Linked DNA regions of Homo sapiens: regions 1, 3, 4, 5 and 6 are each linked to region 2. The links are contacts of gene promoters, found by promoter capture Hi-C in blood cells and fetal thymus (Javierre and others, 2016). All regions are on one chromosome and are shown on one strand. Each heading gives the region's core, a stretch centred on a gene start or on the middle of the fragment in contact. The rest is flanking DNA. Distances are from core to core; before and after follow the strand shown. Region 1 overlaps MAML3 (mastermind like transcriptional coactivator 3). Region 2 holds the start of MAML3-AS1 (MAML3 antisense RNA 1). Region 3 has its middle 47 kb from the start of MGST2. Region 4 overlaps MAML3 (mastermind like transcriptional coactivator 3). Region 5 overlaps MGST2 (microsomal glutathione S-transferase 2). Region 6 overlaps MAML3 (mastermind like transcriptional coactivator 3).

The links. Contacts are between HindIII fragments. The CHiCAGO score rates a contact against its expected background, and 5 or more counts as called.
Region 1: a fragment that was not itself captured here is called in contact with the fragment with the promoter of MAML3-AS1 in region 2 in 1 of 17 cell types (neutrophils); the score reaches 5.5 in neutrophils.
Region 3: a fragment that was not itself captured here is called in contact with the fragment with the promoter of MAML3-AS1 in region 2 in 1 of 17 cell types (neutrophils); the score reaches 5.2 in neutrophils.
Region 4: a fragment that was not itself captured here is called in contact with the fragment with the promoter of MAML3-AS1 in region 2 in 1 of 17 cell types (neutrophils); the score reaches 5.5 in neutrophils.
Region 5: a contact is called between a fragment that was not itself captured here and the fragment with the promoter of MAML3-AS1 in region 2, in 1 of 17 cell types (neutrophils). The highest score is 5.1, in neutrophils.
Region 6: a contact is called between a fragment that was not itself captured here and the fragment with the promoter of MAML3-AS1 in region 2, in 7 of 17 cell types (M2 macrophages, neutrophils, M1 macrophages and 4 more). The highest score is 7.9, in M2 macrophages.

What each region holds. Positions count from the first base shown.
Region 1 is chr4:139,782,464-139,785,272 of GRCh38, reverse strand. The region is part of intron 2 of MAML3 (mastermind like transcriptional coactivator 3); the gene reads left to right. LOC124900782 (a long non-coding RNA gene) reads left to right here. Exons shown (of 2, transcript XR_007058277.1): 2 at 1-2,809. Among named protein-coding and RNA genes, the nearest start is that of MGST2, 120 kb to the right of the region's middle. The HindIII fragment of the contact is 4,083 bases long and covers 1-2,809 here.
Region 2 is chr4:140,126,714-140,129,413 of GRCh38, reverse strand. MAML3-AS1 (MAML3 antisense RNA 1) reads right to left here and starts at 1,399. Exons shown (of 5, transcript NR_147610.1): 1 at 1,327-1,399. The region is part of intron 1 of MAML3 (mastermind like transcriptional coactivator 3); the gene reads left to right. The HindIII fragment of the contact is 9,535 bases long and covers 1-2,700 here.
Region 3 is chr4:139,711,858-139,714,557 of GRCh38, reverse strand. It overlaps a transcript of MGST2 not described here. Among named protein-coding and RNA genes, the nearest start is that of MGST2, 47 kb to the right of the region's middle. RefSeq lists an enhancer at 2,239-2,700. The HindIII fragment of the contact is 2,368 bases long and covers 138-2,505 here.
Region 4 is chr4:139,803,648-139,806,347 of GRCh38, reverse strand. All of the region lies in intron 2 of MAML3 (mastermind like transcriptional coactivator 3), which reads left to right. Among named protein-coding and RNA genes, the nearest start is that of MGST2, 140 kb to the right of the region's middle. The HindIII fragment of the contact is 9,936 bases long and covers 1-2,700 here.
Region 5 is chr4:139,672,887-139,675,586 of GRCh38, reverse strand. All of the region lies in intron 1 of MGST2 (microsomal glutathione S-transferase 2), which reads right to left. Among named protein-coding and RNA genes, the nearest start is that of MGST2, 8.4 kb to the right of the region's middle. The HindIII fragment of the contact is 7,308 bases long and covers 1-2,700 here.
Region 6 is chr4:139,735,436-139,738,135 of GRCh38, reverse strand. The region is part of intron 2 of MAML3 (mastermind like transcriptional coactivator 3); the gene reads left to right. It also overlaps a transcript of MGST2 not described here. Among named protein-coding and RNA genes, the nearest start is that of MGST2, 71 kb to the right of the region's middle. The HindIII fragment of the contact is 4,202 bases long and covers 1-2,700 here.

The DNA.
Region 1 (2,809 bases), core at 260-2,759, 340 kb after region 2:
TGTCCTCGGTCTTGGTATCAGGATCCGGCACCGTGTGGGAGGACCCAGAAGCTGAGGGGCAGGCTGTGGTTCAGACATTGAGCACCCAGGAGCCATGTGGCTGGGTGTCTGTCAGTTAGGAATCCAGGTATCGGCCCTGGCCTCATGAGTGTTTGTGTCCAAGCTAGCCGCCTTCTTCTTTTGTACAAATGTAAGGGGTACAAGTGTAATTTTGTTATACAGCTATGTTGTGTGATGATGAAATCTGGGCTTTTAGTGTATACATCACCCGAATAAGGTATGTACATAGTACCATTCAGAGATTTCCCATCATCTACCTTCTTTCCACCCTCCCACCCCTCCTCGTCTCCAATGTCTATCATTCCACACTCCATGTCCACGTGCACACATTAGCTCCCACTTGTGAGAACCAAGCTAGCCTTCTAAACCTCTCCAGGATCTTTCTCTGGTGACAACAAAGAAATGAAGCAAGAGAGTGATCGGAGATGAGGGCAGGGGCTGCAGACTTGGCCAAGGCGTAGCGCATAGCAAAGGCCCAAAGAACTGAGTACCCTTCCAGTTTAATTGGTCCTTCAGAAGAATGGAGAGAATAGTACATTGGGGGACTAAGTGGGAAGAGATGAGAATTGTATTAAAAGCAATACAAATGTTTCTTTTTAAGGAATGGAAAGAGATTCTTGAGAAAGGCGACCCACACACGCGCACAAGAAAACATCAGCACTCATGCAGGAACAACGAGAGGCCATAGGGAAGTATTTTTAGCAAGTGGAAGTCAATCACAGCAGGGAGAGAAGAGGGGTGGGTAAAGAAGGGGCCTGGAGCCTCGCAAGTAAGCCCAGAGCCCTGCAGTGGAAGCCACCTAAACCAACACCATTCTCCCTCATCCCGTGCCTCGCCAGGATCGCTTGGAATGCCACTGGAGAGGCAAGATGGTTTTAGAAACAGGAAATTGGAAGTGTTCTGCTTAAAATGCTTCAGGCTCTGTGTGAGAGAGAAAGAGAGGGTCTGTGTGTCGATAAGAGGAGTGCTTGTGTGGACGCTCCCAGGTCGGCTTGCGGGCAGCTGGGCGGCATCAGGCGGGCCTGGCCTTGTTGACTGCTCTCATCAACAAAGGCTCGCTTGTTTTGCTAGCCATTTTCCTTGCATTTCAGAACCAAGGGTCCTTTCTTCTTTTTTCTTCTCTTGCATCAGAGAAAGCTGTTGTGTGCGGATGCTCAGGAAGGTAAACATATGCATTTTAATATCTGTGGCTCCCCCACAGTCAGTGAGCTATTTCCTCCACCCAGGTGGAAAGAGGATAGCGGGCCTCTCTGACATGCTGGTTAGTCTGAAAACAGACCGCTAAATGCGTAATGAAGAGCCTCCGAGGAGTCAATCTGCATGTTAAAATGGTGTTCAGCAGCCCGGGCTGTCACACAACATAACTTGAAGATGAATGTGCATCCAATCAGACGGCCAATCGCTGACTGGGAGGGTCCTGGCTATTAGGATTACCTGACTGCTCGGTGGCAGTGGGGTTTCCAAGGGGCCACAAGTTAACCAGCACCCCCCAAATCTGTGACAAGACAAATGAGCCCTCTCTTGGGCATCCCCAGATTTGCATGGTCAGAATGATGCCGAGAGACAGTCTGAACCAGAGAGGAACAGTTAAAGAAGCGGGTATTGATCCCAACAGAAAGACACAGGGCTTTCAGCACGTTGGAGTCCAGGGGCTGGAAGCGATAACAAAGGAAAATGTTCAGCTTGACACTTGGAAGCAGAAAGGCAGGTTCTGAGCAGCCCCACACCAGCAGGTACTACCTGCCATAAGGTTTGTGTTGCAGCCACTGCAGTCACTGCTGCTGCCACCACAACTACAGTTCATAGCCAGTAACAGCCTTCACATGAATGATGTGTAGACACCACTTTTGTCTCTGAACGCTTGACAACAATTAGGACCTGACTCCAGGAGCAGGACGTCACAGGAACACCGGAATACTGGAGAAATGAGGTTAGAGCAAAGAAATTAGCCATCTGCCTGGTGAAGACTGTGTCCTCGAGGTAGCATTTACATAGGAACAACAGGCAACACGTATCCATTTTCATTATCCTGTGCTACAGATAGACAGAGGACAAAAGGGCTTTAAGAACCGTGTTTTCTTTAAGGCCCCTGTACTTAGCGAGGCTGTATGTCCTTTTTTCCCCTTCATTCAAAATGCCTGCTGGAGCTGCAGCTAAATGACAAGCCCTGGGGAAGGATTCCTATCAGCTGGAAGTTTTATGCATTGCTCCTTTTTTGAGGTTCCCAAACACTGAAAATAGGCAGCCTAAAGCCAAATTTGGAGCATAGGAAAGGGCAGCAAATACAATTGTAAGGCTCTACTTTGAATGTTGCAAATCTCCATCTGAAAGATGGAGGGAAAAAATATTTTTAGGTGAAAGGTGATTCCCAAATTGAGCCCCAAAGATGTTCCAGCAGCTCAGAGCTGTGGGGTTGACATCAGAGGCCTCCTGTCTTAAGTGAAGCCTCACCCATAGACATTGCAGGTTCTGGGTGCGCACACCACTAGCTCTGGCCAGCTCCTCGGCAGTAAAGAAGCTCAGTTTGCAGTTGATCCTTGGCTGAACTTTGCCATTCATTACAGGACAACCAAAAGGGGCACCAGGAAGGCCCACCTCCATTTAGCATGTCTATTGCCCTCCTAAGAGCCCTGTTAAAGTGGGGAAAGCCACTTTTCTACATATATATATCAGCTAACACTTTTATCTTTGTGTCCATGTAAACTGTTAATATTAGTTTCACCATGCCAGCTTGATCAAAAAGTCAGTC
Region 2 (2,700 bases), core at 150-2,649:
AGAAGGTATGCATAAGAATTGGGGGTAGGGGGGATTTAGAGTCACCTTCTTTGTAGAATTTTGGTTTGACCTTCAAACGGGACAACTTGTGTTCTAAGTTATTCCTGCATATAGCATCTACGTGGGGTCCACAATTTGTCATGGCCTAGAAGGGGGCTTCCATGGTCCCACTGATGGAAAAAAGTGATAATACTAACAGCTCACATTTTCTGAGTGTGAGACACTTTTAAATGCTTTGCATGTTATCATCTCTTTCAGTTTTCACAATGACCTTCTGAGGCTCGTCTAATTATTGTTTCCATTTAAAAGATGAGGCTACTGAGTCCCCCGAGAGTTTTGTTGATTTGTCACAGTTAATGAATGGTGGAACAGGGATTCAAACCTGGACATTATTGCTCCTGAGGCTGTGTGACTACGACTCTGATGACCTCTCGATGTTGGTCCTAGAAGGAGACCAGTGGATTTAGGTCTTCGGAAGACTACCTATGCTAGTGGAGCGTGATGGAAGGGAAATCTTGAAGGTTCACACCTAGTTGTTACTTGTTCCATTTACTCCCTGCCTGGGTCTCTCCACTCTGCCCTGACCTCAAGGACAGGGAGACGCTTCTGGCTTGCTGGGGTGTTAGTTCTTTCTCTTGCCCTGCATGTGGCCCACTAGCGATGGTTGTTGTGAAGATATACTGTCTACTTTATTTGTTTCCCTCCCAAATTGCCACAGTCAAAGTCTTCTCTGGGCTTGAGCACACATCTAGAGGACCACTGCAGCTGCCTTTGTGTGGGGATAGCCTGTGTGGGTGCACCCTTTTTTGACACACAGAGTGCTTTCCAAGAGCTCCAAGTCCTTGGTGTTAGAAGGATACTCCTGCTGCAAAGATCCCATTGCCCATGGGGAGCTCTGAGCTGACATTCCCTAACAGAACCCAAGTAGTGGTCAGAGCTTGGGGCTCCTTAAAGGCAGGGGTGCTGCTGGGTCTGAAATAGTACTTTGGATATTGCAGGTGCTCCATACATATCCATGGACTTAGTTGATTTTTAGCCCTGCAGGTTGTTCCTCAGCACATGGTTCTTCTCTGAGCTCCATACTGCCCTCATCTTCGCTCATCTGTGACTGTATCTAAACTCTTCTCAAACCTATGAGTATTTTTGGCTTCTGCACCTCCTGAGGTGTGATGAGTTCTCTGTTTTTATGAAGAAGAGATCTTACCTTGTATTGTTCTAAAGCACCATCTTAATTGAAGGTAGGAGGAGGAGTTTGGAGCAAACCAGAGAGGAATATGGACAAATGAGGGGCAAAAGAGAGCCAGGGCACAGCAGAAGGGGCCTCACCAGGGAGAAGAGGAGCTGCCTGTTCTGTCACTTAGCTCTCCATGATGTGCTGGGATGCTGTCTGTGAGGCACTGGACGAAGGCAATTTAGTGAAGTCACATTAAAGTGGCTCCAAGATTTGATGTCACAATAGGTCACTTTGACCTTCTATTTATGATCAGCTCTTGATGTACACATAAAATTTTGGGAAGTAAGTAAAATGTATATGGAGGTTTGGCTTGCGTTCTGGTGAATAAGGTCCAGGAGGTTAAATCTCTGTGCTTTTAGTACAGCTACTTGGTATCTGGGCCTCATTTCCCCACCTGTAAAGCAGGGGTAACAGTAGTTCCTTCCTCATAGTGTTGATGTGAGGACTGAGAGATACAGTTCTTGTAGAATTTTCAGTAAAGTTCTGGATCCACAGTGAGCCTTCTATAAATATCAGCTGTTATTATTAGCAAACCACCAAGATGCCCACTATTGTGCCTCATGATGGCAGGCTCAGTGGGAAGCCAACATGTTTTCTCCAAAAAAGTAGAGCATGACTCTAGGTTTGTGGTGCTTGTTAGATGGAAGAGTCGAGCTTTTGCTGGCTCTCTATACCTCTCGTGTGGAAGGTGCTTAGCATGTTTAGGCCCCATTGCAGTGACTATCAATGTGAGTCCAAATTCCCTCCACACTTTCTGTCACTCCTTTTGGACATACCATATACTGTCTCCCATCATTTATCACTGACTGGCCACATGGCACCGCTTAGGAGCCAGATGCTGGGCTAAACATTGAAGTGACAACCATCTGGTTTACTGCCCCTCCCCTGCAAGAACCTGAGGGCTCCATGGATGGAGGATGAAGGTACAAAACACAGGGCATGAGCAGGGAATCATGAGTGTTTTGGTGCTGTTGAAACAGAAAGCTCAGGACGTAAAGTGGTGGAAGAAGAGGCTGGTGAGAGAGGCAAGGCATTAGGACGTGGAGGGCCTTATCTGCCACGCTCAGAAGCATAAGCCCTATGACATAGGAGAAGAGAAACTATCAAAGGATTATAAACGAGGGTGTGATGTCATCATGACCATACGAAAGATAGGTTTGAGACCAAGACTGGGTGGAGGGAGGTCGGTGAAGATGTTACAGAATACTCAGCAGAAGATGTTGAAGGGCTTCAAGTAGGTGAGTAGTGGGTAGAGATGGAGATAGGAGACCATTTTCAAAATATATTAAGGAGTCCATTGAGTAGACAGGGGGGACTGAGAGAAATCAGGGATGACTTCCAGTTTTCTGGCTTGGAAAATGGTGTTACTAGCCAATTTAGGTTTTGGAGGGAAGATGTTTGGTTTTGGACATGCGACGTTTAATGGGTGTATTTATGGTCCATTCTGAAGGGATGTCTGGTAGTCA
Region 3 (2,700 bases), core at 72-2,571, 410 kb after region 2:
ATGTTTTATTACGCGTATTTTGCTTTGGCCAGAACAAAAAGAAATACTTTTCCTTTATGATGCGGCTTGGCCCCCAAAGGCAGTTGTGCCACAAGCCAGATCACTAGGGCCCCTCAGGGAAAGAGAACCCAGAAGCTTAGCATGCTGGCAAAAGGGTAGGAATTTCTTCCCAGTCAGATTTCTGGCTTCTGTCTCTGTGTGCAAATAGTTAAATGAATGGGGGGAAAAAATCAGTGTTTATGTCCTCTGTAAAGTTTTGATTAATGCCAAAAAGAATTCTAAGGCTAGTCTTAAGCTGGTGTATTTTGTGCCATGAATTCGTTTTTCTGTGTAAAGGGGTACTTTAGGATAAAACATGGGCTTAGAATACCTGTAAGCCCGCTTTTCAGGATGACCTCACAAGCTGGTCAGTAATAAACTTGGCTGCAGGTCCCTGAAACAAACAAAAAACTGGATGAAATCTCCACCTTGTTTTATGTCCTTGGGAGCTTGACCTTTTAACCATGTGGTGGTACCTTCCCGTGGTCTCCACCTTCCAGGAAATAGGAATTTTAGGATTCATGTCATAGCTCTAAAAATCATATTAAATAGTTAAAAGCCTTTGCAAGCTCAAAATTAACTACTCTAGACTCTTCCTGGGAAAGGAACTGGAGACCACGCTTTGCTATAGCTCAGTAGCTAAGATCGTGCACTTTCATATTGGTAGCCAGGGTTCGATTTCCCCGCCTACCATTTCTGGTTTCATATCTGCATGACCTTGTCTATTCTCTTCTTCTCCATGGACTGTCTTAAATTTTCCTTTCACTAAGCACCTAGGAGGTTATCTCTGGTAGAGTTCAGAAGCTAGAAATATTGGCCGCTTGGCATTGTTAAAGTCAGGTAATAAGAGATCCAAAAGTATTTCTTTTTTAAAGAACACTATGGTTAGAAGTCAGCTTAATTAAAAGTAGATAAACAAGCAATAGATATATTTAAAAGGCCATTAATGATTTTCTCTTTTTGGAACTTGTTTTTCTGGAAAAAGGTTTTTTCTTCTCAGTCAACTGAATTATTTTTCTCCTTTTTTTTTTTTTTTTTTTTTTCTGTCTTGCCACTCTTAATGAACACACGAGAGGCCCTAAGATAACTTCTGGTAGCCTGGGACTCCTTGGGAAAAACAAAGGAGGTGTCACAGACTCATTGGGAAAAACAAAGGAGGTGTCACAGACTCCGTTTTGGGAAAAAACCTGTTTTTATCTTGAAACCCCAGGAATTAAAAGCAGATGGATCCCTCTCAAAATCAAATGCTCTGTTCTGTTTTGTATTGTGTTATCTGATGGTTTTGAGTTTGGGGGGTATCAGAAATTACTTTGCATTTTGAGACAGCTTTGCTGTGAAATAACTAGGTAGGAAATATACTTTAAGGGATGGCTAATAGTAGTTATGGAGGGATACTTTGACTCCGCACACTTGGAACAGAGAAGCATGCTTTGCTTTGTTTTTCAGAGTCAAGGAAACTTTTCTTTTGAGCTATTTATAGCTTGTAGCAATTGAGTAAAGCATACTGCTGTGAACAAAATTTGGAACATATTTGTTTCTCTCTAACCTGACTTCAGAATTTGGAAATTAGTTGTGAGTATTCTTAACTTATGGCAATATACTTATTTGCATAAATGCAATACGAATCTGTTTTCTTTTGTAACAGGACACAATTGGAGAAATGGGTCATTTTACCAAGGCTTTGACTGGAATGGTGTGCTTTCCTTTAAGGAATCAAACTTGACTTGTAGAGCCAATAAAAACCCTTTGGGGAACTGGCCTCATACCTTGCCTACACAGTCCCTGTATAGGGTTTCTGACCTATGGTAAGTAAAGAATTTCACTTTCTCACAGGTCCAGGAGCCCCAAGTTATCTTGGGACCTCAAAAGGACAGGAATTTACCTAACTCATAGGTATTTCAGGGTACAAACCCATGGCAGGGCTCGGCTTTTTAAAAAGTCTTATCTGAGATTCCTTATGAAACAGAGTTCCATCAAAGCCAATTAAAATGCCTGTGTGAAAAATAATTATCCTTGCTGTACTTTATACAAATAATCAGGCCAAGTATAATAAAGCAAATCAGTCTTACCATAATTCGTCTTTAGTAAAAATGGGAAACTGGAGCGAGAACTATTATGTTTCAAGAACTATGGTACACTTGTTATTAAATTCTAGTCTCACTAGTTGTTTTTAAGTTTGTTTCTGCAATTTAAGCTAACCCTGTTTATTCCTGTGAACTAACCAGTGATCTCTAACTGCTGCTCAGAGGAAACAAGAGGGATGGGTAATGTAAAAGTCTGGATCAGTATTCTAATTCTGGGCACATTGCAATCAGCTGCCAACCCCATATCAGCTTGGTTTCAACAGTTGCACAGTTGATGGAAAGCCTTCTAATTTAGCTTGCTTGGAATAACTTTACTTATTTTGCTTTACTCTTGTGGAATACATTACTGCTATACTCTTTGTGTAGGAATACAGAACAAGCTTACTGAATGTTTTCTTAAACTAAACACTTATTAATCTTCCAGATATCACCTCTTGTCAAAACTCAAGAGTCATGAATGGCCCTCACCATACTGATGCTTTCTGACTGAGCTCCTCTATACCCTGAATGCAAGAGACCCTCATAGTTAGGCAGGAATATCATCGCCCCTATTCAGCCTGAAGAAGTTACAGAAGAT
Region 4 (2,700 bases), core at 142-2,641, 320 kb after region 2:
TTATATTTTTCATTCATAAACTGTCTCTATTCATGTCTGTTGCCCATTTTTCAAAAATAGGATATATATTTCTTTTTCTAAAAAACTTACATATTATAAATTTGCATTTATGCCAATATTTTGTCCTAGCTTTTAATCTGCTTGTTAATTTTTAAGGGTTTTTAATGTACAGTTTAAAAATTTATGCAATGAAAACTATTAACCTCTTCCCTTGTAACTTCTAATTATTTTATACTTAGAAAGACTTTATACCAAAATCATGAAATACTGACTTTTAAAAATGTTTTTGGAGTTCATTTTTTACATTTAATTATATGCTCTTCAGAAATGTATTTTGGTATAGTTGCAAGGTGCAAATCTAACTTCAGATATCCCCCCTTATTCTTGTCTATTTCATAATCTTTCCTTTCCCCATATTTTTAACAGATAATGAATTCTTAAGATCTCCTTCTGGACTATCATTTCTCTTGCATTGAACTATTGGTTTTTCCACCGCTCGCATAGTATTCCATTATTCTGGTTTTACAGTAGGTTCTAACATCTCATATTGCCTTCTTTAGCTTCCTTAGCTTCTCCTCCCAGTTTATTTTTCCAGAATAACTATAAAAAATTTATTAAATTCCTAAATGAATCCCTCTGCAATGCTGATTTGAATTATATTAAATCTATAGAATGGTCTGGGAAGAGTTGACTTCTTCACAATATGCAGTCTCTTCATTCAGGAATAAGAACTATATCTCCATTCACTCAAGTCTTTTTTAAAGATTCTCTAATTTTCTTCTTGTAGTTTCTATTCATTTCTTATTAAGGTTATTCTTGGGTAACTCAAGTGTTTAATTATTTCTGTTTCTGAAATCATTGCAAAGTGGCATTTTTAAAAAGAGGGTCTTGATTAGCTAAATTGGGGTTAGACTATGAGAAAACCCAGCAAAACCTGACAAGCCAGAAGTCATTAGTAATTAAATAATTTCTATCTGAAAACTAATTGGATTAAATTAACCCATTTTAAGGTATTATTTCTCAGACAAGAAATGTCCAACTTCTATTTCTGTGTCACCATCAGTGACTATTCCTAATAACATACCACTTTTAGTCATTGCATAAACAGGAGACAAATGAAATTCATGCTTATAATAAATTCTTTTTGTTGTTGTTGTTGTTTTGAGACGGATTTTCGCTCTTGTTGCCCAGGCTGGGGAGCAATGACTACATCTCGGCTCACCGCAACCTCCGCCTCCCGGTTACAAATCAAGCAATTCTCCTGCCTCAGCCTCCTGAATAGCTGGGATTACAGGCCCCTGCCACCTAACCTGGCTAATTTTTGTATTTTTAGTAGAGATGGGTTTTCGCCATGTTGGCCAGGCTGGTCTTGAACTTCTGACCTCAGGTGATCTGCTTGTCTCAGCCTCCCAAGGTGCTGGGATTACAGGTGTGAGCCATCGCGCCCAGCATCATTTTTAAATTAATTGTTATTTGTGAGTACTAAACAGCACTGTTCTAGACACACTATCCTCTACTTCTAAAGCCACACTTCAGACCTTAGCCCAGTAAAACTTTTCTTTTGATTTCCCAAAACATAAATTGTTTCTGTTACAAATGTAAATAGTGTCCTACTACTTAAGTGTATACATACATATGAGACTATAAGCAGATATAAATTAATATGCTTGCAGAAAGAGGATGTATGATAGAATTTTAGAGTATAAGCAGACCTTAAAAATCAACTAGCCCAAGCCATCTAGTCTTACTGGGATCCATGAATGTATTAAAATTCTTAGTGAGGCTTGGCGCTGTGGCTCACACTTGTAATCCCAGCACTTTGGGAGGCCAAAGTGGGTAGATCACTTGAGGTCAGGAGTTTGAGACCAGCCTGGCCAAGATGGTGAAACCCCGTCTCTACTGAAAATACAAAAATTAGCCAGGCATGGTGGCGGGCACCTGTAATCTCAGCTACTCTGGAGGCTGAGGCAGGAGAATCGCTTGAACCCGGGAGGCGGAGGTTGCAGTGAGTCAAGATCACGCCATTGCACTCCAGCCTGGGTGATGAGAGCAAAATTCTGTCTCAAAAAAAAAAAAAATCCTTAGTGAGATCACTTGTGTATGTGTGTATCATGTGTGCATTTTTCTGAAGGAAGAGTCTATAGCTGAATTTCAAGTGGTTGCCAACTATTTAAGACCCTAAAAAGAGCTGAGAATGACTGAGCTACTCCAACCTTCTCACTCATCAGATGAGAAGACTGAGGCCCAAAGTGCTGAGGAGACACACCTTTGGGCACACAGCTCTTCAGGGGCAGAGCCAAGGCAGGAAGTTGGGTCTGCCGATCCCCAGCTTTTTCTGTAATACCTTTCTGCACTCTACATGTGAAGATCATATCAGATCCCTGCATCCTCAGTGTGCCTGCATGGTGTGAGCTGGGTGTGTTGAACTAGTGTGGAATTTGGAACCAAGACCCCACATTGAGATTTAGCTCTGGACTCAACAGTTGTGTGACCTTGGGCAAGATCTTCAACTCTGACCTCAGTTTCCTCTTCTATGAAATTGAGTTGCAGGAGTAAAACTGATCTTACAGGCTTTAAAAGAGGATATAATGAGGTGATGTGTGTAATGCATACATAGCCAGGCACTTTATAGACTGTAAAGTGCTGTGTGGTGTTATTATTTTCATCATGACTCTGGGAGAACTGGGGTAACAGAAGCAC
Region 5 (2,700 bases), core at 110-2,609, 450 kb after region 2:
GCCAGGGCTCTGACACCTTGCCCAGCAGGTACAAGAAAACTTTGGGGATGATGGCTCCTACCTGCCGACGTTTCCCTGTTATAAAACAGTATGACTTTCTTCTCCTTTATTTCATTAGATAATCAACTCTGATGCCTGGGACCACCTTCATCTTGTGATGAGCTCTGTGGACTTCTTTCACTTCCACATCCATACTTCCTCCTCTGTCAGTTTTTGAGCCTTCAGTAGGTCTTGCCTCCTGTCCTTAACTTCCTCTTTTCACCCCATAATAAACTTCTGGCATGGAGACAGAGCAAGGAACACTCTTAGGGACCTGCTAGCCACCTCAAGCACGGAAATAAAAACTCTTGAGTTCCTTCAAGGGAAATTCCAAGCACCTTGCTATCCTTCAGTCCCGCTAAGCGAGAAGATAATAATAGTTTAAATAATAGTCACCCAAATAAGACAGAGTTACAAGACGTTCGGTTCCCTATAGAAACTAAAGACAACGTCTTCACATAAGTTCTTGAGTTGTTTCTCAGAAACCAGGACCTCCACCAGATGGAAAATGCTGACCACTGTCACACAGACCTCAGCTAAGCGGGAACTGAGGACTGAATTCTGACCACCATTCCCTGTTCTAAATTTCTTCCTGAGGGGCCTGCAGAGAATCACACACACGGGTTAAACCTCATGAAAGGAAAATAAATCTTAGGACCCCCAAATCACTAAGCCAAAGGGAAAAGTCAAGCTGGGAACTGCATTGGACAAACCTGCCTCCCATTCTATACCTAAATAAGATAGCTATAAAGATTTTGTTTTTTTAAGAGACAGAGTCTCATTCTGTCACCCAGGCTGGAGTGCAGTGGCATGATCTCAGCTCACTGCAACCTTCACCTCCTGGGTTCAAGCAATTCTCCTGCCTCAACCTCCTGAGTAGCTGGGATTACAGGCATGTGCCACCATGCCCAGCTAGTTTTTTGTATTTTTAGCAGAGATGGGGTTTCACCATGTTGGCCAGGCTGGTCTTGAACTCCTGACCTCAAGTGATCTACCCGCCTTAGCCTCCAAAAGTGCTGGGATTACAGAAGTGAGCCACTTTGCCTAGACACCAGATAAAAAAAGAAAAAAAAAAAAAACTACATAGCTCCCTCACAATTTACCCACAAGGAAATTCCTTGTGGACAAAGGACAGACAGAACTCAAAGTGATTCCTCTGCTCACTTGAGACAAATACATATCTGATTGCTTCCTTTGATTCAGTAAAAGGCTAATCAGAAACTCAAAAGAATGTCTCCTATCTACCTATGACCTGGATATAGACTTTGAGTTGTCTCGCCTTTCCGGACTGAACCAATGTACATCTGACATAAATGAATTGATGTCTCATGTCTCCCTAAAATGTATAAAACCAGGCTGTGCCCTGACCACCTTGGGCACATGTTGTCAGGAGCCCCTGAGGCTGTGTCACGGGCATGTCCTTAACCCTGGCAAAATAAATTTTCTAAATTGTCTCAGATACTTTTTAGCTTAGAACCTTAATATTTCTTTCTGCTGACCCAAGTTTTTAGACAAAGCCTTGCTCCCTTAACCAACTGCAAACCAAAGAATCTCTGAATCCACCTGTGGCCTGTAAGCCCCTGTGTCAAGATATCCTGCCTTTTGAGGCCAAACCAAGGTATAACCTCCATGTATTGATTTATTATCTTTCCTATACCTTCTGCTTTCCTGAAATATACCCCTGCCTTTAAAAACCCTTGCTTGGGCCAAGTCTGTTGGCTCACTCCTGTAATCCAGAATTTCAGGAGGCCAAGGTGGGAGGATCACTTGAGACTAGGAGTTCAAGACCAGCCTGGGCAACATGGTGTGACCCTATCTCAAATTTTAAAAACCCATTTAGGCATGGTGGTTCACACCTGTAATTCCAGCATTCTGGGAGGCCGAGGCAGGAGGACTGCTTGAGCCCAGGAGTTTGAGACCAGCCTGGACAACATAGTGAGAACCCATGTCTAGAAAATAAAAATACAAAAATTAACCAGGTGTGGTGATGGTGCACGCCTGTAGTTCCAGCTACTTAGGAGGCTGAGTAGGCAGGATCGCTTGAGCCTGGGAGGACAAGGCTGCAGTGAGCCAGGATCAATGCACTCCAGCCTGGGTGACAGAGCAAGACCCTGTTTCAAATAACAATAAAATAAATAAAATTTTAAAACCCTTGCCTGAAAGCCATTGGGGAGTTAGGGTCTTAAGCATTAGCTGCCCAGTTCTCCTTGCTTGGCACCCTGCAATCAATGCTTCCCTTTCTGTCACTGCAAATCCTGGTGCTTGTGTTTGTTTCTGTATGCTGGGTGAATGGACCCACGTTCAGTTGGGTTACAGTAACTATTATTTCGCTTCACATTATTTATTTCAGTTTTAGCTCCTTACCAGTTGTCTCCCCCACTATCTCCTTGTCTGACTTGTTTTAGTACCTCAATATCTGTTTCCTACCTGCTAATATTTTAAAAATGTTTCCTTTTAAAATTCCACACCAAGTGTATAGTTTGGGTCTCTCCCTGTGTTAAGAGTATTAGAGGCAATGTGTTTCCTACTGGAACAGGATATGATCTCCCCCTCTCACAAGAAGTCAATATTGATCCTGGTGTAGCAAGGGCTCTCAAAGCAGGCTCTTCCCTTCCACTAATCCCCTTCTGCTACAAATAAGCTGTTGTTTAGGATTTAAAC
Region 6 (2,700 bases), core at 46-2,545, 390 kb after region 2:
CAAGCTGTTTGTTATGTGCCAGTCACTGGGCCCATGGTGGAGCTGAGTTTCTACCCAGGCCTGTGGGGTTCCCCCAATGTACACTGTTCCTTTCTAGAAGCTGAACCAAGAGCTTTGCTGGACCCATTTAGCAGCCTTCGCATTGGGCCCCAAGTTATTGCTGCTTCAGTGATAAGCCTCCTAAATTGATGAACTCTGCCTCAAACTCAATCATCTTGGGGACACAACCATCACACATCACAAAACAAACCTTTTAATCCAATCTTCTTCAATAATCTGCTGAGACAGAGGATATTAGATGGGGTGGGCCCTTTTGGAGCTCTGCTATGAATTTATTGTAAACACCTCTCCAAACCCACAGTAAAAATTTTTCTGGAAAAAGAAAGTTTGTAAAAGAAAACCAAATCACTGCCTTGACACCTGATCAACTTCAAAGGGAATTGTAAGGTTTTATTTTATTTTGTTTCTTCCTTCCACTTATGGTTGAATGATCTAATCTTATGCCCTTTCTTTAAATGTCAAAGTTGATACCACAGAGGCATCCCAATTTTGGGTACCAGACAACATATTAAAAAAAATGATGCATATTTTGGTGCTCTTTCAGTTGCATCCTTTGATCCCAAGGGTTTCTACCTTTTTATTCTATGCCCATTCCTCTCCCCACCCCCTTCCCATTTCTTTTTATTCCAACATCCTCCTGGGTGGTCCGCTCAATTTAGACCAGATGCATGTTATGGTCAGTGGAAAAGTCAGAATCCCAGAGACGCCACCACCAGACAAGTTCCTTAACCTCTCAGAAATTTGGGCTTAAAAAAAAAAAATCAACAAAATGAGTTAAACATACAGGTGAAAGCCCCTAGTAGAGTGTTTTGCAATGAGTAGGTGCCCCATAAGTGTTACATTCTTCATATTTGAAGAACTCTTTCAATCAGAGGGAACTTTCCTCAAATCATAGCTTTCCATAGTTCACCTTATTACACGAGGGACTTGTAAGTCTAGGGATGTCTGATGCTCCCCTTAGCAAGGGCATTATAGGGGACTCGCCCTTCCTCAGTCATGGATGCTCCTCAGCCTCCACAGCACAGTTGCAACTGGAGTAGTCCGTCCTGGAAGAATTGGCTCCTTTCAGCCATGGGCTCCTTTCAGAATTCTTGGGTTTGCATTGCAAACATCACTGGCCTGAGCAACCCTCTGAAAATTTTGAAAATTTTGTTCCAAAGCAGGAAATTTTGCAATAGAAACTAAGCAACTCAGCACCCTGACTTGCTTTTGAAAGTGCAGCTTTGCAATCTAATCAGGGCACAGGATTATTTGCCCCAATGATTCTCTATGGGACATCGTAACCACCTGGAGAGCTTGTTAAAACACCCCCAAAAGTTCTAATTCAGGAGGCCTAGAGGGGAGCCTGGGAATTTGCATTTCTAACAAGCTCCCAGGTGGGGACTAATGCATTTGATCCTGGAACCACACTTTGAGAACCCCTAATTTTTAGTTACTCATTTTTCCCAAATTGCCCATACTGGGAATGGGGAGGTTTTAGAGTATTCTTAGCTATTTCCTTTCTATGACACTTCATTAACTATGTCACCTCCAAAATTTCCATTGTCAAGGAGTCTTATGAGTATGGTTTTCATTTCAGGGGGTGGGGACTGAGAGAGGTCAGATGGCTTGCCTGAACCTCTGGGAGTCACAGCCAGGCGCCTCTGTCTAGCCATCGTGGGTGTTCGATTCATCCTGTGCTGCTCAATAACATAAAACTGCTGCGCTCTTTGGCCAAGCAATTGTCATGTTAGCTTTCACCTCTGATACATACTTTCGCCTTCTCAAACTTACTAATAAAACTTTCAATAGTATCTTTGCAGGAGAAAGCCTCTGGATTCTGGTGAGAGGTTGGATGTAGCTATCTTTTGATATATACAATTTCGTCGAAATCCCAGTTGGGCTAAAGATTCCTTCCTTTAAAAAAAATTTTTTTTTACTTGACCCAATTCAGAGTGAGTGAGTGAGTGAGTGTGTGTGTATGTGTGTGTGTGTCTGAAAAGCACAGGTTTTCTGGGGCATCCTTTTTGTTTATGCATTGATTTATTTTTACTCTTTCCTGCCACGAACAATCCTCATCTCTGTCCTCGTGTCCTTCCCAGCCACTAACACACACGATGTGGCGGGGCCTGGGAAATGCGCCCGCTGGAGCACACCGCAGCCTCGCGGGCTCCCGAGCGGCGCGCGCGGGCCGAGGACCTCCAGGGCCCCTCGCGGGTCTCCCGAGCGCCGCCGCACCGCCCCTGCCCGCGCCCGGGACCGCCTCGTGGGCTTCTTTGTTAGGGCCGCCTGCGCCGAGAGGCAGTCTAGGTCCTGCCGGGGACGCACGGGCCCCACTCCTGACTTCCTAGCCGGAGTCCCCTGAGGACTTGTAAGCATATAGGCTGGAGTCGAGAGGCTAAATTAGGCCCCAGGGGACTTTTTCAATAAAACCCTAAATTTCATTTAGGTTGTTCGTAGGCCAAGCGATTGCAAGGACTCTGAGCCGAAGCAGCGGTGCCGGGCCGACCCGAGGCTCGCTCCTTATCGCCCCCTCCCCGGGCCGGCTTTGTGCAGCTGGGGTCCTGGAACCCGGTCCCTCCCGGGCTGTCGGCCCTGGGGTCTGGTGTCCGCCACCCTCCCCCCCCGGAGGTCGCCACTGCCCCCCTACCCCACTCCCAG